7 separate regions of the Homo sapiens genome follow, and all the other regions are linked to region 1. The links are contacts of gene promoters, found by promoter capture Hi-C in blood cells and fetal thymus (Javierre and others, 2016). All regions are on one chromosome and are shown on one strand. Each heading gives the region's core, a stretch centred on a gene start or on the middle of the fragment in contact. The rest is flanking DNA. Distances are from core to core; before and after follow the strand shown.

Region 1 (3,388 bases), core at 480-2,979:
AGTAAAATTTCATTCATTACAACTTGTTAATAAAGCACTTTTATAACAAAAATGACTTCACGTTCACTTTCTTGATTCTTACAAAAACCTGTGCTTAGAGTGTAGAAATATTTGTATCGTATTATATATGTGGGAAAATTTGAGCTCAGAAAGATTAAGTAACCTTGCTCAGGTTACAATCCCATTCAGTCGCAATTCTGGGATCAGATGCCTGGTCTTCCAACTTTGATTTGGTGAAGCTTCATCTTTTGGGCAAGTAAATAGGTAAAGAAGTATAGCACTTTCTTTGCCGATCTCCCTTATAGAAACACACTGCCCTGTAAACTTGGTCACAAAAACATTAATGAGAAGTGATGCATGAGCATAACTAAGTGATTTCATTTCCCTACCAATTTTATGATTTTAGATAATAAACAGTTTAACAGGGCCGGGCACGGTGGCTCACGCCTGTAATCCCAGCACTTTGGGAGGCCGAGGCGGGTGGATCACAAGGTCAGGAGATCGACACCGTCTTGGCTAACATGGTGAAACCCTGTCTCTACTAAAAATACAAAAAATTAGCCGGGCGTAGTGGCGGGCGCCCGTAGTACCAGCTACTCGGGAGGCTGAGGCAGGAGAATGGCCTGAACCCGGGAGGCGGAGCTTGCAGTGAGCCAAGATTGAGCGTGTTTTGCAAAGCGAGACACCGTCTCAAAAAAAAAAAAAAAAGCAGTTTAACATTTAACAGAAGTGGACAGCTGTTTTCAAATGGTGTAGGCAACGACAAACATTTATTTCACATACCTTATTCTCCTTAGTAGTCAGCTTCAATTGCTCCAGTTCCTCTCTATGTTTCTGTTCCATTTCTTTTTCCAACTTGGCCACATCTTCGGTGAGTTGCTTCCTCCTCTTCTTGTCATTCTTGGGAACAGCATTCTTCATGCCCTGAATTTTGGCTGAAAAGCCATTAAAATCATTAAGTCAGACACGCAGGAGTAAAAGGAGATGAGAAACAGGAACCAATAAGGGGATGGTAACGGGCGAAGGGTACAGAAAAAGTAATTATGGAAGAAAGAGTCATCACGTAACAGGCAGCTACAGAGAGAGAAGATCCCAGATAAAGCTGAGACCAAAAAAAAAAAAAACTTCATTAACAAAATCTTGAATATGTTTCGGTTGTTTGGCGAGATAAGAGAAGGAAAAAAACCTGACTGTAGCCAGTTTTAAATCTTTCCGGTATCCTTTCTGAACCTCCTAAACTGAGGCGGGTCCATTCAAAATACACCCATTAGGGACAAGTATCGGTAACTGGGGCAGGTATAGAAAAGGGAGGCATCGTGGGTTTGGGAGCGGACCAAGACGGCGGCTTCTAGGTATTTTCAGACACCTGCACCCCGGCGGCGGCGCGGGGTAGGGGGCACGCCGCAGGCCTCAGAAGGGGAAGCCTCTGAAGGTTGGGGAATTAAAGGGCCGCCGGGGTAGGTGAAGAGAGAAGAGGCCACTTGCTACTAGGGGAAGTCTAGGGTGATCCAGATAAGTCACGCCTTGAGATTCCCCAGAATCGACCCGCCACGCGCCCTTCCCCCAGTCGCGGCGGCTTCCAGATTCCCACTTCCTTCCGCCTCACCTTGCAACTCCTTCTTCTCTTTGCGATGCCTTCTCAGCAGCTGCTCTTCCTCATCAAGCTCTTCGGTCAATACCGCCTCCATGACGACCAGGTACCCCAGCACACGCGCTAGAAGAAACCTGCACCGGCTAGTAGGCACCTTCCACCCCTCAACCCTCACCCGGGGCTCCATTGGCTACGGCTGGGACCCAGCCCCGCCTTCAAGGCGGCACCGGATCTAAGCAAAGCCACTGCAAAGACGAGAAACTTAAATGGGGTGCTGCGCGTGCGCGCTACCGTGACCCTGCCGTGATGGGCGGGGCGGCAGGGGAGGAACCAGACTGCGAGCGGAGAAGCGGAGTTTGCAGCCTCGGAATTGGCTAGAGCGCCAGAGCCGAGTCAGCCATAAAGCTACGCGCTAGGCTCTTGGCCCTGACGTGAGGCGCGCAGAGATGGCGTAACGGGAATAGTTTTCAACGTCTATTTCATTCCCTGCTTCAGAGGACCTCTTTAATCTTTGATTTTGGTCCCTGTTTCTAAGAAAAGCAACTGAAAAGGTAAGAAAGAAAAATAACGCATTTTAATAAAGCCGTCGATAATTATCAATGGGAATCTTTGGGCTGTTTGGGGCTGTGTGGAATTAAATTATGTTTATTGTCTCCAAGGTCGTAATACCGCCCCTGAGAAAAAAGGAGCAGCGCTAAATAATCGAGAAAATGCCTCCTCTTGAAACGGATATAGAGATGGAAACAAGATATAAGAAGGATTGAGAATCATATAATACAGGAGCTTAAACACCTATGCGCGATGATAAAGAGGGTACTATTAGAGCGCTTGGAAAATACCAGGAAGTTGAGAGAGTTAACAGAAGGGCGCACGCTGGATTGGCCACAAAATCGAATTACTGAAGTAAGTGCAAAACGACAAATTGTCACAGAATACAGAGAAAAGGGGAAAAGAAATTAAGAGGAGAAAAAGAGAGATCTAGAGGGCCGGTCCAGGAGATACAATCTATGCATAATAGGAATACCTGAAACTGAGGACAGAGCAAGTGGAGCTGAAACAATAAAGGATCTACTTGAAAAAATTTTCCAGAATTGAAGAACGAACTAGATCTACAAATGGAAAAGGCTCATAGGATACCTTTAAAGTTTAATGAAAAGAAAGCAGCATCTAGACATATCCGGGTGACGTTTTTGAATTTCAAAGACGAAACATTTTACAAGCATCCAGTCAGAGAAAGCAGGTTACTTACAAAGGGGCAAAAGTCAGGCTGACCTCAGATTTTTCTCCTGCAATTCTAAATGCCAGAAGACAGTGGAACAATATCTAGAGTGTTAAGGGAAAATAATTTTGAGCCAAGAATTATATACTCTGCCAAGTTATCATTTCTTTACAAAGGAAACTGGAAGACATTCTTAGATATACAGGGGTTAGGAAAGTATATCAACCAAGAACTTTCCCTGAAAATTTTGCTGAAGGATTTACTGCAGCTAACAGAGAACCTGAATTAAAATAAGAATAGGGAGGCAATTGTATGAAAGAACTGATGGTATGCATTAAAACTAGTTAAGGAGCATTAAGTTTAAATTGTTATGTATAGGGCATTAAAACTAAATACAAAAATAGAAACATAAGCTGGGTGTAAAATTTCAGTTTACGTTTAAACTGGAAGGGCATACCACATGTTCAATATATTGGACAAATACTGTTTTATTTTTAGCATGTAGTATTGTAGATACAAATACGCATGTTCTTAAGCTAAACCTAAGTAAAAGGGCTTTGTCACTGTAGATTTGACAA
Region 2 (3,388 bases), core at 623-3,122, 1.8 Mb after region 1:
AGAAATTTGGAGAAGAAAAAGAGATTTAAGTAAATCTGCCATTATAAAATTAGAAAAATACAGATTTGTTTATAGAATATCACCAATTAAAGACATTGGAGATACTGACAAATTTATTTCTGCTATAAAAAGTATTGTATTGAAATATGGTAACATGCATCTTTTATTTACAATGTGAACATACCCATATAGAGAGTATTCAAATAAAGAAACAAACAAAAACCTCCTGCTCCCAAGAGGCTTCCTATGTGAACCTTATATTACCTCCTGAATTTCTAATAGACTACATTAGTTTTACTCCTTTATGTATTTCATATAAATGGAATGCAGTTTATATTTATCAGTGTCTGACTTATTTCACTCAATGTACTACTGTGGAGTTCATCCACACTGTAAAATGTAGTTGTACATAATTTATTCCCTGTTCTGTATACTGTCCAATAGCGTGAACACCAAAATGTATGTATGTATTTATTTATTGATGAACATTTAGGTGTTGCTAGTACAGACTATTACACAAGCATTACTATGAACATTTTGGTACACGTCTTTTGGTTTATGTATTCCTTTGGTCTGAATGTTCATGTCCCCCCAAATTTATATGTTGAAATCCTAATCCCCAAGGTGGTGATATTGGGAAATAGGCCTTTAGGAGGTGATTGAGTCATGGAAATGGAGCTCTCATAGGTGAGACTGTTGCCCTCACAAGAGAGGCCCTAGAGAGACCCCTCCCACCATATGAGGGCACAGTGAGAAGGTGTGCCATCTGTGAAACAGAAAGCAGACCCTCACTAGATACCAAAGCTGCTGGTGACTTGATCTTGGACTTCCCAGACTCTAGATCTGTGAGAAATACATTTCTGTTCTTTATAAGCCACTCAGTTTATCTTATTTTGTTATAGCAGCCCAAATGACCAAAATACGTGTGTACTCATTTCTGCTATACACTACATTGGGTCATAGCATAAGCTTATCTTCAGCAATAGCAGACAAAAGGATTTCCAAAGCAATTTTTCTGATTTATATTTATACCAGAATCCATTAGGATTTTGGTATTCCAAATTTTGTGAGACTTATATTTTCTTCTTTATAAAATTGTAGCCTTTATGGAAATGTGTTGTGATATGTTTGATTTCCCAATTCATTTCCGTGATTACTAACTACCTTTTCACATGTATACTAGCCATTTGAATATATTCTTTTGTAAATATCTTTCAAGTCTTTTGTCCAATTTTCTACTGGGTTGTTCATCTTATTAATTTATAGATATTTATTAGGTATTCTGGATATGAGTTATCAGTTGAATATATAAATTATAAGTATCTTTTATCTTCTCCTAGTCTTTGGGTTGACTTTTCCTTCTTTTAATGGTGTCGTTTATGTACAGTTTATCAATATTTTAAATCCCATTTTAGTATTTTTTTTGCATCCTCTTGAAGGAATCTTCACCTACTCTGAAGTCACAAAGTAGTCTTCCTCTATTTTTTTTCTAGAAATTTTGTTGTTTAACTTTCACATTTGTACCTATAATCCACCTGGGCCACATAGTGGTTCAGACGATTTTCCCCAATGCATATTGAAATGATTTAGGGCCATTTTTCTAAAAGAATGTACTTTTCCCTCCACTCTACTCTTAAGCTTACCTTTATCATAAAATCAGGTGTTAGAGATGGAATGTTTGCATCCTCTAAAATTTATATGTGAAGTCCAATTACTTTTAACTTAATTATTGTTGTATTTGGGTTTATATCACTATCTTATTAATATTCTGTATTTGGCCCATTTCTTTTATGTTCCTTCCCAATTTCTTCTTTCTTTCTTTTAGATAACCAGATGTATATTTTTAAACATTCCCTCTCTTTTATTTAATTAACCTGTTATACATTCTGTCACTGTTCTTTTATGCCAACTTTAGAAATTATAACTTTATCCTTGTCTTATTATGATCTAGTATGGAATATGCTTTTATAATTTCCCCAATAGTGCTAGAATTTTAGAACTTTTAAACTTCATTTATTCCTCTCCAGTTCTTTGTGGCTGCTTAACACAGTTTTGGTGTCCCTTTTCCCTATTGAGAACTTTCTGCTTGGGACATTTAGAAGCTTTAGACAAGCACAGTCATCCTACACACAAGATTTCCGGATTCCCTGCAGAGAAATAAACATCTGGTAATCATCAGCTTATCTTGAAAAGTTACATCTTTCTAGAAGTTTAGTTAATCGAATAATCTTCCTTGCTTTTAGAAATCCTTGAAGTCTTTTAAAATATGAATTTTAATTTATGCAGCTTTCTTTAGTTGTGGCAGTAAGAGTTGACCTCACTGTGATCAACTGCATCTGATTGGGAGGTGAAGGTCTTTTGTGTGTGTGTGTGCTGTTTTAACACTGTAAAACAAGTTAAGTCAATATCTCTTACCAATGTCTCCAATTTTAGTCTCTTGTTATTTATATTCTATACCAACGAGGATTTCTATAGACATACACAAAGGTTATAAGCTGGGATTTGATTATTAATATCTTTAGGATGTATACTGTAAAGAACAATAGTTGCTTTAAAATTCCCACACTATCTATGTAACTGCTTTTAAAGCAAAACACTTTTGCTATTAGTTAACAGGTCTTCAGTGTGTTTAAGTGTGTACAATGCATTTAATTTTGCACATTAGAAAATTGCATATGAGAAATCAATTCAAAATGGCTAAAACATAGCAGTGCTATTTGACCTCAAAATTGTTAAACGGCCCGGCACGGTGGCTCACGCCTGTAATCCCAGCACTTTGGGAGGCCGAGGCAGGCGGATCACCAGGTCAGGAGATCGAGACCATCCTGGCTAACACAGTGAAACACTGTCTCTACCAAAAATACAAAAATTAGCCGGTTGTAGTGGCGGGTGCCTGTGGTCCCAGCTGCTCGGGAGGCTGAGGCAGGAGAATGGCGTGAACCCGGGAGGCGGAGTTTGCAGTGAGCCGAGATGGCGCCACTGCACTCCAGCCTGGGCGACAGAGCGAGACTCCCTTTCAAAAAAAAAAGTTGTTAAACGGACTCCAGTAATCAGTAAAGCAAACAAAGTGAACAGGGAATCTAGTTTATTTTCTTTGTTATTCTACTTCAGAGTTTAAAACAAGGATTAATCATAATCAAATTTCCTTTTTAGAGACATTATTTTAGATTACTCTGGGTGCTTGTTTTCCAGACAGGTCAAGCATCCCTGCATATGGTGGCTATATTGGGGAAAAACTTGGAATTAGCAGAAAATAAAGCTTTGAGAAGTATAAACAATGTCATGTGTATAGTATGTAGAGATGTGACATTCTTTCTTTTCTTGCCACAACAGGGACTGTAGTATTCCAGCGAGTTAGGAAAAGATTTATGTTGCTTTTTTCCCTGTT
Region 3 (3,388 bases), core at 281-2,780, 1.4 Mb after region 1:
TCAAACAAATAGAAAATTGGACAAAACAATGTTTTCAGGCATAATAAACAAATTGAACCTTATTATTACCTCAGCTTGGCTTGCCACCTAGAGGCAGTTTTCGAGCTTTAATAGATGGAGGGTTTATTAGTCTGTTTTCACGCTGCTATAAAGAATGACCTGAAACTGGGTAATTTAAAAAGGAAAGAGGTTTAATTGACTCACAGTTCCTCATGGCTGGGGAGGCCTCAGGAAACTTACAATCATGGTGGAAGGTGAAGGGGAAGCAAGGCATGTCTTTAAGAGGTGGCAGGAGAGAGAGAGAGACAGAGAGAGAGAGAGAGAGACAGAGAGAGCAAAAGTGCAGGGGAAACTGCCGCTTTTAAACCGTCAGATCTCATGAGAACTCCCTCACTATCACAAGAACAGCATAGGGAAAACTGCCCACATGATCCAGTCACCTCCCACCAAGTCCCTTTCTTGACACATGGGGGATTACAATTTGAGATAAGATTTAGGTGGGGACACAGAGCCAAACCATATCAGAGGGAAACCTCGAACAGATCCTGGCAGTCTACCTTAGTGGAGGGATTAGAAATTAGAGTTCATGGAGACTAAAGTGGATAGAGATTTTGGGTGGGGGGGGGGGGTTGGTGAAGAGAGAGAGAGAGAGATAAGAGAGAATATACCCAGAGATCACAAAGGGGTCCCTTGAGCCTTGGTATGTGCATGTGAGAGAGAAAGATACCCCTGGCAGGGGTAAGAACTGCTGGGAGGCAATAAGCCAAATAATTCCTGAAGCTCACTTAAGGCTGGGAAGAGTTTGTGTTCCCATCAGTTAGAGTGGAAAGACCTTATTACACTGTATTATATAGGGGCATTGAATAGAATCCTCAGAAGAATACCTCAGTAGTGAAGTTAGTAGTGAGGCTAAATTAGCCCTGGACTAAAATATACTCTGGATTTCCCTAACAAGCCTCAAAAGAGGTAGACTGCTACTAAGTAACATAACTGCGTGCTAGAACAAAGCCTAAGACTACTAGAAGGGTTACAACAAAATCTACCACCCTATTAAGTGAGGTTTCAATGTCGCAAAGCAATAAAACATTTACCAGACAGTAGAAAGAATAAGAAACCTAACCCATAATCAGAAGAAAAATGTCAATAAATAGAAACAGCACCAGAAATGACAGAGGTGATGTAATGACTAAAATTGTCTATTGTAAATATGCTTCACATCATGAGTAAGGTATAGGGAAGCATGAGCATGATGAAGAGAGATATAGATAATAGAAGAAGACAAATCAAAGTTATAGAGATGAAAAATACAATAGATTCTTCATTTCATCTCTGAAATGAATAGATTGAACGGGATCAACAGCTGATTAGATACTGCAGAAGAAAAGATGAGTGAAATTGAAGGAGCAATAGAATCTATCAAAAATGAAGCTCAGGGAGAAAAATGACTAATAGAAAAATGAACAGAGCATCAGTGACCTCAGGAACAAAGTCAGGAGATCTAATATAATTGGAACCACTGAAGCAAGGTGGAGGAGTGTAAAAAGAGAAGACATAATGGCCAAATGTTTGTCCAACTGTCATGAAAAGTATAAACTCATAGATCCTAGAAACTCAAAGAATCCTAAGACGGAAAAGCATCCTAAGAAAATCACACCAATACACATTGTAATTGAATTTTAGAAAACCAGTTTTGATAAAGAGAAAAATCATAATAGCAGCCAGAGGAAAAAAAAAAGGCACTGTCTCAACAGAAACTTCTCATCAGAAACTACACAAACTGGATGACAGTCCTCCAAGTGTTGAAAGAAAAAAAACCTGTCAATCTAGAATTCTATGTCCAGGTTTTTGATTTTTTAAAAATAAAGGTGAATAAACAATTCTCCAGACAAACAAAAGAGGTAAAATTCATTGTCAGCAAACTAAATATAAGAAATATTAAGGGAAGTTATTCAGGCAGAAGGAAAATGATGCCAGATGGAAACTTGTGTATTCACATAGGAATAAAAAATGCCAGAAATCATAAATATATGGATACATGAAAAATACTTAATTTTCTTAGTTTTTAAGTCTCTTTAACAGATAATTGACTGCTTAAAGCAAAATAGAAATAATGTACTGTTGGCTTTATAACATATATAGAAGTAAGGTATATGATAAGGACACTGTAACTTACCATAGTTGTGTTAAGCAGCTTCTAAGATGCTCCCCAACAGTCTCTGCATTCTACTGTTCAACTCTAATATAGTCTCATCCTGCATGGCATAGGGCCAAACTCTGTAAAGAATAGAATATGGAGAACTGACAATGTATGGATTTTAAGCCTAGGTCAAAAAGATATTGGAGCTTCCAACTTGCTCCTTTTTGCATTGCTCCTCTGAGGAAAACCCAACTGCCATGTCCTGAGGATGCTCACATCTACAGAGAGTTTACATGGAGAGAAACTGAAGTCTCCAGCCAAGACCCAGCATCAACTTCCCAGTTACGTGAGTGAGCCATCTTGGAAGCAAATTTTGCAGCACCAGTAAAGTGTTTAGATAACTGCAACCCCTTTCGACATCTTTTATTTATTTATTATTATTATACTTTCAGTTTTAGGGTACTTGCGCACAATGTGCAGGTTAGTTACATATGTATAGATGTGCCATGTTGTTGTGCTGCACCCAGTAACTCGTCATTTAACATTAGGTATATCTCCTCATGCTATCCTTCCTCCCCACCCCACCCCACAACAGGCTCTGGTGTGTGATGTTCCCCTTCCTGTGTCCATGTGTTCTCATTGTTCAATTCCCACCTGTGAGTGAGAACATGCAGTGTTTGGTTTTTTTGTGCTTGTGATAGTTTGCTGAGAATGATGGTTTCCAGCTTCATCCATGTCCCTACAAAGGATATGAACTCATCATTTTTTATGGCTGCATAGTATTCCATGGTGTATATGTGCCACATTTTCTTAATCCAGTCTATCATCGATGGACATTTGGGTTGGTTCCAAGTCTTTGCTATTGTGAATAGTGCCGCAATAAACTTACCTGTGCCTGTGTCTTTATAGCAGCATGATTTATAATCCTTTGGGTATATACCCAGTAATGGGATGGCTGGGTCAAATGGTATTTCTAGTTCTAGATCCCTGAGGAATTGCCACACTGACTTCCACAATGGTTGAACTAGCTTACAGTCCCACCAACAGTGTAAAAGTGTTCCTATTTCTCCACATCCTCTCCAGCACCTGTTGTTTCCTGACATTTTAATGATTGCTATTCTAACTGGTGTGAGATGGTATCTCATTGTGGTTTTGATTTGCATTTCTCTGATGGCCAGTGATGATGACCATTTTTTCATGTGTCTGTTGGCTGCATAAATATCTTCTTTTGAGAAGTGTCTGTTCATATCC
Region 4 (3,388 bases), core at 342-2,841, 1.3 Mb after region 1:
TTGTCCTTCATTCTGCCAATATAGTGAATCACATTTATTGATTTGTGAATGTTGATCATCTTCACATCCCAGAGATAAGTCCCATTTGATCATGGTGAATGATCCTTTAATGTACAGTTGAATAGAGTTTGATAGTATTTTGGTGATAATTTTTGCATCTATGTTCATCAGTGATGTTGGCCTGTACTTTTCTGATAGTGACTTTGGCTTTGGTATCAGGGTAATGCTGGCCTTGTAAAATGAGTTTGGAAGTATTCTCTTTTCTTCAATTTTTTGTTAGAGTTTGAGAAGGATTGATATTAGTTCTTTAAATGTTTGGTAGCATTCAACCATGAAGCCATTTGGGTCTGGGCTTTTCCTTGATGGGACATTTTTGACTACTAATTCAATCTCTTTGCTCATTATTGGTCTGTTCAGATTTCTGATTTCTTTATGATTCTGTCTTGCTAGGTGATATGGTTTGGTTGTGTCCCCACCCAAATCTCATCTTGAATTGTAACTCCCACAATTCGCATATGTTGTGGGAGGAACCTGGTGGGAGGAGATTGAATTATGGGGGCAGGTCTTTTCTGCACTGTTCTCATGATAGTGAATAAGTCTCATGAGATCTAATGGTTTTTAAAAGGGGAGTTCCCCTGCACAAGCTCTCTCTCTCTTTGCCTGCTGCCATCCATGTAAGACGGGACTTGCTCCTTGCCTTCTGCCATGATTGTGAGGCCTCCTCAGCCACGTGGAACTGTAAGTCCATTAAACTTCTCTTTCTTTTGTAAATTGCCCAGTCTCGGGTATGTCTTTTATCAGCAGCGTGAAAACGGACTAATACAGTAGGCTATTTGTTTCAAGGAATTTATTAATTTTTTGTATGTTGTCGAATTTGTTTGTATATGATTGTTTATATTAGTCTCTTATGATGCTTTCTGTTTTTGTGTAATAAGTTGCAATGTCTCCTCTTTCATTTTTGAAATGAGTTTTGGTTGAGTCTTCTCCCTTTTTTTCTTAGTCTAGCTAATGGTTTGTCAATTTTGTTTACCTTTTCAGAAAAAAACCTCTTAGTTTCATTCATCTTTTGTATAACTTTTCTAGTCTCGATTTTATTTACTTTTGCCCTGATCTTTCTTATTTTTTTCTTCTTCTAACTTTGGGCTTAGTTTGTTATTCTTTTACTAGTTCTTGGGGTGGAATATTAGTTTGTTTATTTGCAGTTTTCCATTTTTTTGAGGTAGGGATTTACTGCTATGAAATTCGCTCTTAGAACTGCTTTTGCTACCACCATAAATTTTGGCATGTTGTGTTTCCATTTTTGACTTAGTGTTTCCATTTTAAAATTTCCCTTTTAATTTCTTTGACCAAATAGTTGTTCAGGAGCATATTGTTTACTTTCCATACAGCTGGCAATTTTCCTGATTTCTCCTGTTATTTACTTCTAGTTTTATGCCATTTTGGTTGGAAAAAATACTTGATATGATTTTGATACTTTTAAATTTGTTAAGTTTTCTTTGTGGCTTAACACATGATATATCTGGGAGAATATTCTGCATCCACTTGAGAAGAATGTGTATTCCATTGCTGTTGGGTGGCATGTCAAGTACATGTCTATTATGCCCATTTGGTCTAAAGTATAGTTCAAATCCAGTGTTTCCTTATTGATTTTATTTCTGGGTGATCTGTCTTTTGTTGTAAGTGGGGTATTGAAATATCCTATTATTGTGTTGCAGTGTGTTTCCTTTCAGATCTCTTAATGTTTGCTTTATTTCTCCATCTTTTTTTATTTTTTGGCAGGATTTTGCCCTGTTGCCCAGACTGGAATGCAGTGGCACAATCACAGCTCACTGCAGCCCTGACCTCCCAGGCCCAAGCAAACAGCTGGGACCACAGGTGTACACTACCATACCTGGCTAATTTTTAAATTTTTTGTAGAGTTGGGCTCTCCCTATGTTGCCCATCCTGGTCTTGAACTCCTGGGCTCAAGTAATCCTCCTGCCTTGGCCTCCAAAAGTGCTGGGATTATAGTCATGAGCCACCATGCCCGGCCTGCCTTATATATTTAGATGCTCTGCTATTGGGTGCACACACACACACACATTTATGTATATATTTACATATATATATTTACAATTGTTTGCTCCTTTTAATGAATTAAACCCTTTACCACAGTATAATGACCTTGTCTCTTTTTACAGTTTTGACTTAAAGTCTATTTTTTTCTGAAATAAGTATACCTACCCCTGCTGTCTTTTGTTTTCTATTTGAATGAAATATATTTTTCCCTCTCTTCATTTTCATTCTATGAGTATCCTTTAAGATGATGTGAATTGTAGACGGCATACAGTTGGGTCTTATTTTTTTAGTGCAGACATTTGCTCTGTGCATTTTGATTGAAAAATTTAGTCCATTTACATTCAAAGTAATTATCGGTAGGTGAAGACTTACTAGTGCCATTTTGTTAATCATTTTCTGGTTGTTTTGTAAATCCTTTGTTTCTGCTTTTCTCTGTTGCTTTCTTCCTTTGTGGCCTGATGGCTTTCTGCTGTAGTATGCTTTGGATCTTTTCTTTTTATCTTTTGTATATCAAATATAGGCTTTTGCTTTGTGATTATCCTGAGGCTTACATAAATCATCTTATAATGTGGTATTTATCTTGGAAACAACTAAATTTTGATCACATATAAAACTTTAAACTTTTACTCCCCTTCCTCTCACATTTTATGTTTTTGATGTCTCACTTTCATCTTTTTATAATTTGTATTCCTCAACAAATTACTGCAGCTTTAGTTGTTTTTAATAGCTTTGTCTTTTAACCTTTATACTAGAGATATAATGGATTTACCCACTGCCATAACAGTGGCAGTGTTTTGGTTTTGACAGTGTAGTTGTTTTTATTACCGGGTTTTATACTTTCATATGTTTTCGTATTACTAACTAGTGTCCTCTTCAGCTTGAAGAACTCCCTTGACATTTTAACACAAGTCTAGTGGTGATAAACTCTCTCATCTTTTTTTGTCTGAGAAAGTATTTATCACCTCTTCATTTTGAAAAATAGGATTGCTTGGTATAATATACTTGACTGGCAGTGTTTTTTCTTTCTGGATTTTGCATCTATCATTCTATACTCTTCTGGCCTGCAAGGTTTCTGCTGAGAAATCCATTGATAGTTGCATGGTGGTTCCCTTATAAATGATGTTCACTTTTCCCTTGCTGCTTTTAACACTGCATTTGCTTTTAGCTTTCAACAATTTGATTACGATATAGCTTGGTGTGGGTCTCTTTTGATTCATCTTATTTGGTGTATTTTGTGCTTCCTGGATCTGGCTTTCTCTTTTCTTCTCCAGTCTTGGGAATTTTTCTGCTACGATTTCTTTGAATATGTTTTCGGTTTCTTTCCTTCTCT
Region 5 (3,388 bases), core at 258-2,757, 1.3 Mb after region 1:
TTCTTTCTTTCTTTCTTTTTTTTTCTTTCTTTCTTGTCTTTCCTTCTCTCTCTCTTTCTCTCTCTTTTTCTCTTTCTTTTCTTTTTTCTTTCTTTCTTTCTTTTCTCCGTTTCCTTCTCCTCCTTTTTTTCCTTCTTCTCCTCCTCCCCCTCCCTCTCACCCCCTTCCTCTTCTTTCTTCATCCTTTTCTCTTAATGAAGTGCCTTTAAAACAGGTTTTCCCTCTTGTACAATTGATTCTTTTAGACCCAGTGTTATTGTTTGAACCATGTTTCCCAAAAAGATGTTGAAGTCCTAACCCTCAATACCGATGACCGTGACCAACCATATTTTGAAATAGAATCTTTACAGCTGATCAAATTAGGATAAGGTTATTAGGATGGGACCTAATCCTGACAGTGTCTTTATAATGAGGGGAAATTTGTACATCATGACAAGCATGCATAGAGGGAAGATACTGTGAAGACATAGGGAGAACACTATCTGCAAGCTATTGAACAGACTAGACTACCAGAAGCTAAATGAGAAGAATGGAATGGATTCTCCCTCATAGTCATCAGAAGGAACCAACTCTGCTGGTGCTTTGATTTTGGACTTCTAGCTTCCAGACAATAGATTTCTGTTGTTTAAACCATTCTGTGTAGTTTTGTTATGGCAGCCCCAGGAATCTAATATACTCAGCTACAATTTAAAAATACTTTTTAGGATAATTATAAATTTATAGGATGTTGCGAGGATAATACAGAGAGGTCTCATGTATCCTTCATTCAGTTCCCGCCAGTGGTTATATCTTACAGAATTGTAATACAATATAAAAACCAGTAATATAGCATTCATCCAATATATATATATTGTTCTGTGTCATTTTATCACATGTGTAGATTCCTTTATCACCACCCCAGTCAAGATCCAGAACTATCCCACCACAAAAAAGATTTCATTTATACTCTTTACTTTCACACTCACCCCCTAACTCTCCCACCATCCTTAATCCCTATTAATCACTAATCTATTTCTACTCTATTACATTAATGGAATCATAAAGTATGTGATATTTTGAGATTGGCTTTGTTCACTCAGCATAATGACCTTGAGATTCATCCAAATTGTTGCTTAGAATTAGTATTTGGTTCTTTTTTTATTGCTAAATAGTATCCATTGTATAGTGTATCACAGTGTTTTAACCATTCACCTGTTGAGTACAGTTTATGCTCAACCTTCATTATCCCAGAGAAGTGCTTAGGTGTCCCAGATGATTGATTGGTCCATGAAATGCTCAGTGGTCTGGATACCATACTGTCTGAGGGAGAGGGATGCACAGCTGGGCAGAGCTGGACCAGTAAAGCTTGCACTCAGTTCCTTCAATGGTGGCTTCCAGCCCCAATGGGGATCAGAGGGCAGTCCCCAGGTCCCTGGAGAAATGCCCAGGTGAGGAGTGGTGCAATGCTGCTGCCCCAAGGTCCCAGCACAGGGATGGAGGGGTGGTCCCAGTGCCATGCCACAGCCAAGTGAGAGGGAATGTATTTTTTCATAGTTATTGTAACTGAAATTGCCTTTTTTTATTTGGTTCTCACCTTGATCATTATAAGGGTATAGAAGTGATACTGATTTTTGTACATTTCTTTTCTATCCTGAAATTTTACTGAATTCATTTATCAAATCTAAGCTTTTTTTTTATCGAATCTTGAGGGTTTTCTAGATATGAGGTCATATCATCAACAGAGATATATTGACTTTCTCTTTTCCAATTTGGATGCCTTTTATTTTCTTTACCTTGCTTAATTGCACTGGCTAAGACTTACAGTATTATGCTGAATATGAGTGGCGAAAGTGGGAATCCCTGTCTTGTTTCTAGTTCTTAAAGAGAATGCTTTCATATTTTCCTCATTCAGTATGATACTGGCTGTTGGTTTGGCATACATGGCTTTTATTATTTTGAGGTATATTCCTTCTATGCCTAATTGGTTGAGGCTTTTTATCATGAAGTGTGGATGAATTTTTTCAAATGCCTTTTCTGCATCTATTGAGGTGATCATGTTTTTTTCCTTAATTATGTTTATGTGATGAAGCCCATTAATTGGTTCACATATGGTAAATGATCCTTGTATATGTGGTATAAAACCCACTTGATGATGCTGTACTATCTTTTTGATGTGCTGTTTGATCTGGCTTGCTAGTACAGTGCCTAGGATTTTTGTATGTATGTTAATCAGGGATGTTTATCTGTAGTTTTCTCTTTTTCTTGTGTCCTTATATGTTTTTGGTATCAGCATGATACTGGCTTCATAGAATGAGTTAGGAAGAATTCTCACCTCCTCAATTATTGTAAACAGTTTATCTTTTCAAAAGCAGTATTTTGGCTGGGTGCAATCACGCACACCTGTAAACCTATCACTTTGGGAGGTCAAGACCAGAGGAGTTCAGGACCAGTCTGGGTAATATAGTAAGGTCCAATCTCTGAAAAACATTTTTTTTTAATTTTTTACAAATTTGTTGAGCATGGTGGTTTGTGCCTATAGTCCCAGGTACTCAGGAGGCTGAAGTGGGAAGATTGCTTGAGTCTAGGAGTTCAAGGACATAGTAAGCCATAACTGCACCACTGCACACAAGCCTGGGTGACAGAATGAGACCTGGTCTCCAAAAACAAAACAAAACAAAACAAAACAAAAAAGAAAAGCCCTTTTGTTTCATTGACCCTTCCTATTGTTTCTGTTTGTGTCTCTGTTTCTTTTAGTTCTGCTATAATCTTTCTTTTTTTCTTCTGCTAACTTTGGGCTTGGTTTGTTGTTTTATATATAATCAACACCTTGAGATGTGATGTTAGGCTATTAATTTGTGATCTTTCTTTTTTTATTATACAGGCATTTAACACTGTAAACTTTACTCTTAGCACTGCCTTTGCTATATCCCAGAGTTTTCATGTGTTTTGCTTCCATTTTCATTCACTTATAATTTCCATCTTCATTTCATCATTGACCCAAAGATTCATCAGGAGCACGTTGTTTAATTTCCATGTATTTGTATAGTTTACAAAGTTCCACCTGGTATTGATTTGTAGTTTTTTTTTTTTTTTTTTTCTTTTTGAGACGGAGTCTCGCTCTGTTGCCCAGGCCGGACTGCGGACTGCAGTGGCGCAATCTCGGCTCACTGCAAGCTCCGCTTCCCGGGTTCACGCCATTCTCCTGCCTCAGCCTCCCGAGTAGCTGGGACTACAGGCGCCCGCCTAATTTTTTGTATTTTTAGTAGAGACGGGGTTTCACCTTGTTAGCCAGGATGGTCTCGATCTCCTGACCTCATGATCCACCCGCCTCGGCCTCCCAAAGTGCTGGGATTACAGGCGTGAGCCACTGCGCCCGGCCGATTTGTAGTTTTATTCTGCTGTGATTTGA
Region 6 (3,388 bases), core at 624-3,123, 1.3 Mb after region 1:
AAAGGGTCTTGAACTTTACCGTGAGTAAAAATCGCTTGGAGAGTTTGTTAAAACAGATTCCTAGACCTCACCCCCAGAGACTGAATCAGTCGGTCTGAGATAGGAGCCATGAAGTTTCATTTCTAACATGCTATAGGTGATGCTAAATGTAGCCAGTCTGTGCACTGTACTTCTGGGTAGCACTGTCTTAAAATGCACTGCAAGGAATGACATCTCTAGCATTATCTAGTACTAGCTAGTTAAAAAATAAATTACTAGGTCCCTTCCTGGAGTGACTGAATTTTAATCTGTCATTTTCTTACTACTTCTATGATTGCTGGCCCATTCATGTCCTATCTATATTATAATTTACTTAATAGTACTTAAATTGTCTTTATTTAAATATTATGTAATAAAACTTTAGTATAAACAGAAAACTATTACTTGTCATATGTAGAAGTATAAATTTCAAATAGAATGCAACAAAAAAAACCATAAAATTCTTGGTAAATAGTCTCTGAAGTTCTGAGCCTAAAGCCTATTCTCATTTTGTTAACGAGGGGGATAAAAAGATGTTAGCAAAAAAATTGAGATATTCTCCTTTATTTAATTATAAGGCTCAAAAAAGAACGGAAAAGAATGTCCTTTACTAAGTGACTCAAATGCCATTTAGTGGTGAGCCTACATATGACCTAAAATAATCCCACTTACTACTAGCTGTGCTTGCACTACATTTTTGGAAATAAGATTTAAAGGAAACATCTCCCCTTCTCTATGTTTTCATTCCATTGCACTATTCATTAAAGAGTTATTCAAAAAGTGCCTACTCTATGCCAGACCCTGTTCTACACTAACTAGTCATACTCAGCATAATCTGTCTCATCTTCCTCTAAGTAGCAGTTACTAAATAGGGGTTATAATAAAAACCAACTGCTGAGATTGTAACAATCCCATGAAGAGATGATGAGAGCTCACTGCAGATTCATCTTAATCCCTGACAACATCTTCTTACTTATCAACATGTTATTATTTACGCAGAAAAAGTTTGCAGAGCTGTGATGACGGATGACTACACGTGTCTTCCATACAGAAAATTGTGGGAGAAAGTGACTGTAAGCACATAGCCATAAAGCACACAAACTATGAGTTTTTAGATCTTTGCAGAGAATAAAAAACAAGGCAAAGTTCATTTTATCAATCCAGATATACCTCATGAAATCAGTATAAACATCAATTTGAGGCCATCAATAGTCAAAATAATTTCTTTTTAGAGTATGTATAGAGAAAAGGGAAAGCTTCCAAAATAATTTTCTCTATTTATTACTTCACAAATAAAATTTGCATCTTAATGCTTTTTAAAATTTAATAGATAACTCATGTGTTTAGTTTTCACTTTTCCCTATTAATTTCCATATTTCTGAAAGGCACAGTAAGAGGTACAAGTTAATGTCAAGCTCTAAAATGGAGATTAAAATGCTTATATTTCTAATTAATATTTAATTACCTCAATGGCATCTAATTTCTTTTATTCAAACTTTTCAGGTTGTGGGTCTGTTGCTTCTTGAAAGTTCATCTTTTCAAATTTATTCTGTATCTCACTTTCTGCTGACTTCGCTACGCAGTTTCAGAAAAGGGCTATTATTCCTTGTAAGTTCTCCTATAGTAATATAACCTATTAACCAAAAAAGTGCTCACACCGTACTTTTATTGTTTGGGCTAAATTTGATATGGACAAGTTAAGAAAATAAAAACTGTGGGTATTAGGCAGCAAGTAAAAAGAGTAAGTTAGAGCCATATCTGATCTGGAAGGCTGTACTATTAAATGCAAAAAGCAGGTTGCAGTATGATGTATAATTATAATAATAATATGCAGAAAGATCCTTTCTCAAATGAGCATATGTTCTAAATATAAGCAGGAAGAAAGGGACAGAAAGATACACATCAGGCTGTTGACTTTATTTAGCTTGGTTGTTGGTGACAGTAGGGAAGGCTGAGGTTAAAAATGGGGACAGGAAGCCGGTATTAATATATTTATTTTTTTCTTTATATTGTATTGTTTTACCTTTGAAATATCATTTTTAAAGGGAATTCATAAATAAAACTTTAAAATGTAATCCTAATAATGGAGTTTTAAATTAATAACCCTTTGTAGGGCAATTAAGCCTGGGATTTTAGGGCAGGGATTCTGTACTGTCTCTGGTGGGTAAAGGGTATATACTTCATAAAATCAAATTGCATCTTAGACAAGTAACAAATAATCCATGAAGAACATGAATGTGAAAATGGCTTCCATCAGAAATACATCATACCTTAAGGCACTGTTATAAACAAGAATAATTACTATCCTTTAAAAGTGGTTTCTGTTAACAAAAGAGACATAAAAATTGAACTATGTAGCAAAATTCAAACTTTTTACTTGTATTAATTAAAAAAAATACTGCAGTGTCATGGAGGGAGACTAATATTTACCCAAAGAACCTTCAATAAAGCTTTAATACTCACGGATTTTATATAAAAAAAGTCAAAGCAACAGAGATATAAATATCCTTTTATGAAACACATTTCTTCTTGAAAAACAGTCACTTACATGCTTTTATTTTGAAGTAAATTTAAAGATGGTGATCTAGAAACCACAAGTATTTCCGGGTAAGGCTGAAGACCCATTTGTTTGTTATCTTTCAATTTTTGTACTATAACTTTGGCAAATTCTTCTCCTTGGATGTCAGTAGTGTCTAGTAATTGTCTGACTTTTGAGGTCCTTGTAGGCTTGGTACTAACAAGTTCATAGTCCTCTTTCATGATCAAGTCCCTGGACAGAAGGGCATCTAGCGACTGGTTAAGGCAGGCTTCTGTCATTTGGTTCACAATGTCTTCCCTTTTGCTCTGGATCCACTGCTGGGCTATACCAGGCTGCAGACGTTCTGAAAAAGAACAAGGAATGAATAATTTAAAAGGTGAGGACAGATACATAGCAATAAGTAAAATTCCATGAAAAATAAATAAAGCATAAAACATAATTTTCCTATGATTGTGCCAATATGGAACACCAACACTTTGGGGAATGGTGTCATTTTTCAGGAAACATTCAGAGATTTGGGTTATCTCCCCCTCACTCCCCAGAAAAGGCATTGCCTTTTCCTATGGTATAAATCACGGGGCAAAAACCACTTTATGTCATCATTTCCATCTTCTGGGATTTGTTCAGTTTTGTTTGATGTCCATTTTATTTCAAATATAAAAGATACCTGCAAATTTTTTAAATAAACAAAAATAACTTTACCATTAGTAATATGTTAATACCTCCTCTTAGCACTGCCTCCCTATTTAGATGTTCATAGAATACCATTTGGGCCATGTCATCATTCCCATCTCCTGGGATTTGTTTTCCTACTTAAGAAGGTATGTATTT
Region 7 (3,388 bases), core at 433-2,932, 1.2 Mb after region 1:
TGAGTGTAAATGACTTTCAAATGAATATTTTTAATGGGGGCATTCCGATAAAATTTTTAAATGTGAATTCCAGTTAACAAAAGCATTGTTCCTATGTGATAGAATTAGTGCTATTGGTATTCTTAGTTTACAAATGAGAAAACAGAGCCTTAGTAAGGATAAGGAACATGCCCAAAGTCACATAGTTCCTAAGTAACTAAATGTGATTTGGATCAGGATTGTCATATTCCAAAAATCTGTTTTTGACCCAACATGCTATACTACTAATGTTATTTTGTATTCTCTTATTTTCTCTTTCTTCTTTTTAAGAGACGAGGTGTTGCTCTGTCACTTGGGCTGGAGCGCAGTTGAATGATTATAGCTCTCACCGCAGACTCAAAAACTCCTGGGCTCAATCAATTTTTTTTTTTTTTTGAGACGGAGTCTCTCTCTCTCACCCAGGCTGGAGTGCAGTGGCGCGATCTATCTTGGCTCACTGCAAGCTCCGCCTCCCAGGTTCACACCATTCTCCTGCTTCAGCCTCCCAAGTAGCTGGGATTACAGGCATCCTCCACTATGCCTAGATAATTTCACATCTTTAGTAGAGACAGGGTTTCACCATGTTGGCCAGGCTGGTCTCGAACTCCTGACCTCAGGTGATCTGCCCGCCTTGGCCTCCCAAAGTGCTGGGATTACAGGCGTAAGCCACTGCACCTGGCCTCAATCGCTTCTTCTGCCTCAGCCTCACAAACAGCTGGGATCCTAGGCGCAGGCTACCATGTCAGGCTCTGCTATTTTCATTTGATATGTAATCATAAATATTTTTCTATGTTTTTTGGGATATCATTTTTATAAGCCACGGAATTCTCCTCCAAGTTGATGCATAGTTTCTTTTGTTATTGTTTGTTTTTATTCTTACAAATAAGAGTATAGTTAACAAGTTAACATTGCCACACTTATCTTTTCAATTCTGTTAAATTTTATCCTTACGATAAATTCCTAGGTATGTATGTTTGATAAAGAGTAGGTTTTTAAAAAGTTGTCTTTGTTTTTCATAGGTATTTTTTTTTTCTTTTTGAGATGGAGTCCCACTCTGTCACCCAGGCTGGAATGCAGTGACGCGATCTCAGCTCACTGCAACCTCTGCCTCCCAGGTTCAAGTGATTCTCCTGCCTCAGCCTCTCGAGTAGCTGGGATTACAGGTGGCAGCACAATGCCCAGCTAATATTTGTGTTTTTTTTAGCAGAGACGGTGTTTCCCCATGTTGGCCAGTCTGGTCTCAAACTTCTGAAACCAGGTGACTCACCTGCCTCAGCCTCCCAAAGTGCTGGGATTACAGGCGTGAGCCACCATGCCTGGCCTCTTTCTCATAGGTATTTCTTTTATTTAAAAAATTAATAAGACGTGCAGGACTCGGTATGAACAAAGAAAAAAAGGAAATTTTAAAAATAAAAAACCATACAAATAATGCATAAATAAATGCTAGTTGAGAAATTCTCAAGCCATATGGTGAGGCAATTTCAGACAGTATATATTTTACCTACTTTGATTGGATTTGGTCTTTCAGGCTATATTTTCCTTAAGCACATGAATCCTATAATTGAGAGCCTGGCATAGAATCAGTAGCTAAAAGAATAATAGATAATGAGTTGAAAGATGTCTTCCAACAGAAGAGACAGCATAGCTACCATACTTTGCCAAAACAATAAATTGATTTATGGTGTTATAGAGATGCAATTTTAAATTCACTGGTATAAATTTCCAGGTTTGTATACTCACAATGTATACAGTCATGCTTACTATGTTAAGAATCTTTTTAAAGAAACTTTTATAATGTAGTTCCTCATGGATTATTATTTATATCTTCATCAATCCGCCTTTCAGTTTCCTACTCTGAGCTTACTCTTACCCAGGAAAGCTCTTTAAACTAATCTCACTTCTCGTGATCATGAACATCCCTCAGCTTACTCACTCTCAAGGTCATTATTTATTCATTTAGCCAATAGATAATTGCCAAGTCTTCTAGATGCTGAAGCTAGAGCAGTGTCTAAGAGACAAATAAGATCTCTGTTTCTGTGGAGTATTGTTGGAGGAGGCAGATAACACAAAGAAATGGGCATTTTAAGATTGTAATAAATACTATGAGAGTAAAATGGAGATGGGGCCTAAGAGTGGCTCACACCTGTAATCCCAGCACTTTGGGAGGCCGAGGTGGGTGGATCACGAGGTCAAGAGATTGAGACTATCCTGGTTAACATGGTGAAACCCATCTCTACTAAAATTACAAAAAATTAGCTGGGCGTGGTGGTGAGTGCCTGCAATCCTAGTTACTTGGGAGGCTGAGGTACGAGAATCACTTGAACCTAGGAGGTGGAGGTTGAAGTGAGCCAAGATGGTGCCATTGCACTCCAGCCTGGGTGGCAAGAGTGAAACTCCATCTCAAAAAAAAAAAAAAAAAAGGAAAAAAAAACAACAACGAAAAACAGGGAGATGAGACTGAGATTGTCTAAGGCAGGGCGTTGGGGGAAGAGGGTTACTCTCATATGGTGATAATGAAAGGCTTCTGAAAGCATCTGAGCTAAGACCTAAATGATGAGGAATGAGCATTCCAGGTGGAGGGAGAAAATCCCCTGGGGAAGCCAAAGGTTTGTCCTACAAAACAGAAAAAATGCCAGAGGGAGTAAGTGCATGTGGCAGGAGGTGAGCTTGTCGAAATTTTTTGGGAACTGATCATATTGGACAGTGTGGGTCATGCTAAGAACCCACAATAGTTATTATGCTTGCAAGGGGAGCACACTTTGGAGGTTGTTGAATAGGAGAGTAAAATGATGTGATTTACTTTTTAAAAAGATGATCTGGCTGCTGTATGTCTTGTCCAAGATCAATCTCCACCCCATCTTGTGATAACATCCAGTGTCTAGCACATAGTGAGTGCCGAATGACTGAGCACAAATTATCCATTCCATTTCCAATATCTTCTGTATAATCTCTCCTTAACTGTCCTTTCCTTCCCACTTCTCTGACCACAGGAAAAATCCTTATTCATTAAGATTCAGCTAAAGCATTACTGTTCTGGGAAGCCTTTCTGATCTGCAGAGCTGAGTGAAATACCCGCCTCTATGCAGTTTTTGGACATTGTGCTCGCTTCTGTTATAATACTTAACATAATTATCGGTTAGGTTGTCTTCCCTCCCTATAGTGCTTAGCAAGGCCTATTTCTTATTCTTACTTAATCTTCAGTGACTATGTTAGATGATCTGCACATAGTCTGTTCACCTAAACTGCCCTTAACTGTTGATGTATTTGTTAATCACTTGGTATTACCCAACTTTGAAACTGACTCTAGAGAGGGTGACCTCTCTAGAAAACCTTTCTAATCTCAAGCCAGCTCTGTACTCCCTTCACAATA

The links. The method cuts DNA at HindIII sites, captures the fragments that hold promoters and counts their contacts. A CHiCAGO score of 5 or more calls a contact.
Region 2: a contact is called between a fragment that was not itself captured here and the fragment with the promoter of OTUD6B in region 1, in 1 of 17 cell types (activated CD4 T cells). The highest score is 6.9, in activated CD4 T cells.
Region 3: a fragment that was not itself captured here is called in contact with the fragment with the promoter of OTUD6B in region 1 in 2 of 17 cell types (neutrophils and activated CD4 T cells); the score reaches 5.7 in neutrophils.
Region 4: a fragment that was not itself captured here is called in contact with the fragment with the promoter of OTUD6B in region 1 in 4 of 17 cell types (total CD4 T cells, naive B cells, total B cells and 1 more); the score reaches 8.1 in total CD4 T cells.
Region 5: a contact is called between a fragment that was not itself captured here and the fragment with the promoter of OTUD6B in region 1, in 1 of 17 cell types (total B cells). The highest score is 7.0, in total B cells.
Region 6: a contact is called between a fragment that was not itself captured here and the fragment with the promoter of OTUD6B in region 1, in 9 of 17 cell types (total CD8 T cells, total B cells, total CD4 T cells and 6 more). The highest score is 13.0, in total CD8 T cells.
Region 7: a contact is called between a fragment that was not itself captured here and the fragment with the promoter of OTUD6B in region 1, in 6 of 17 cell types (total B cells, neutrophils, naive B cells and 3 more). The highest score is 7.8, in total B cells.

The regions. Positions count from the first base shown.
Region 1 is chr8:91,068,685-91,072,072 of GRCh38, reverse strand. It overlaps OTUD6B (OTU deubiquitinase 6B), which reads right to left and starts at 1,729. Exons shown (of 7, transcript NM_016023.5): 1 at 1,607-1,729; 2 at 784-935. The coding sequence starts at 1,688. It overlaps OTUD6B-AS1 (OTUD6B antisense RNA 1), which reads left to right and starts at 1,884. Exons shown (of 3, transcript NR_110438.1): 1 at 1,884-2,142; 2 at 2,251-2,494. RefSeq lists an enhancer at 1,502-1,681. The HindIII fragment of the contact is 11,349 bases long and covers 242-3,388 here.
Region 2 is chr8:89,229,182-89,232,569 of GRCh38, reverse strand. No RefSeq gene overlaps it. Among named protein-coding and RNA genes, the nearest start is that of PARAIL, 530 kb to the left of the region's middle. The HindIII fragment of the contact is 464 bases long and covers 1,641-2,104 here.
Region 3 is chr8:89,713,519-89,716,906 of GRCh38, reverse strand. No RefSeq gene overlaps it. Among named protein-coding and RNA genes, the nearest start is that of PARAIL, 42 kb to the left of the region's middle. The HindIII fragment of the contact is 6,818 bases long and covers 1-3,388 here.
Region 4 is chr8:89,731,662-89,735,049 of GRCh38, reverse strand. The region is part of intron 1 of PARAIL (palmitic acid regulated anti-inflammatory lncRNA); the gene reads left to right. Among named protein-coding and RNA genes, the nearest start is that of PARAIL, 24 kb to the left of the region's middle. The HindIII fragment of the contact is 9,223 bases long and covers 1-3,388 here.
Region 5 is chr8:89,748,238-89,751,625 of GRCh38, reverse strand. All of the region lies in intron 1 of PARAIL (palmitic acid regulated anti-inflammatory lncRNA), which reads left to right. Among named protein-coding and RNA genes, the nearest start is that of PARAIL, 7.8 kb to the left of the region's middle. The HindIII fragment of the contact is 321 bases long and covers 1,347-1,667 here.
Region 6 is chr8:89,789,591-89,792,978 of GRCh38, reverse strand. It overlaps RIPK2 (receptor interacting serine/threonine kinase 2), which reads right to left. Exons shown (of 11, transcript NM_003821.6): 11 at 1,915-2,900. The coding sequence ends at 2,563. Among named protein-coding and RNA genes, the nearest start is that of RIPK2, 33 kb to the right of the region's middle. RefSeq lists a silencer at 2,571-2,771. The HindIII fragment of the contact is 1,194 bases long and covers 1,277-2,470 here.
Region 7 is chr8:89,828,533-89,831,920 of GRCh38, reverse strand. No RefSeq gene overlaps it. Among named protein-coding and RNA genes, the nearest start is that of OSGIN2, 72 kb to the left of the region's middle. The HindIII fragment of the contact is 6,814 bases long and covers 1-3,388 here.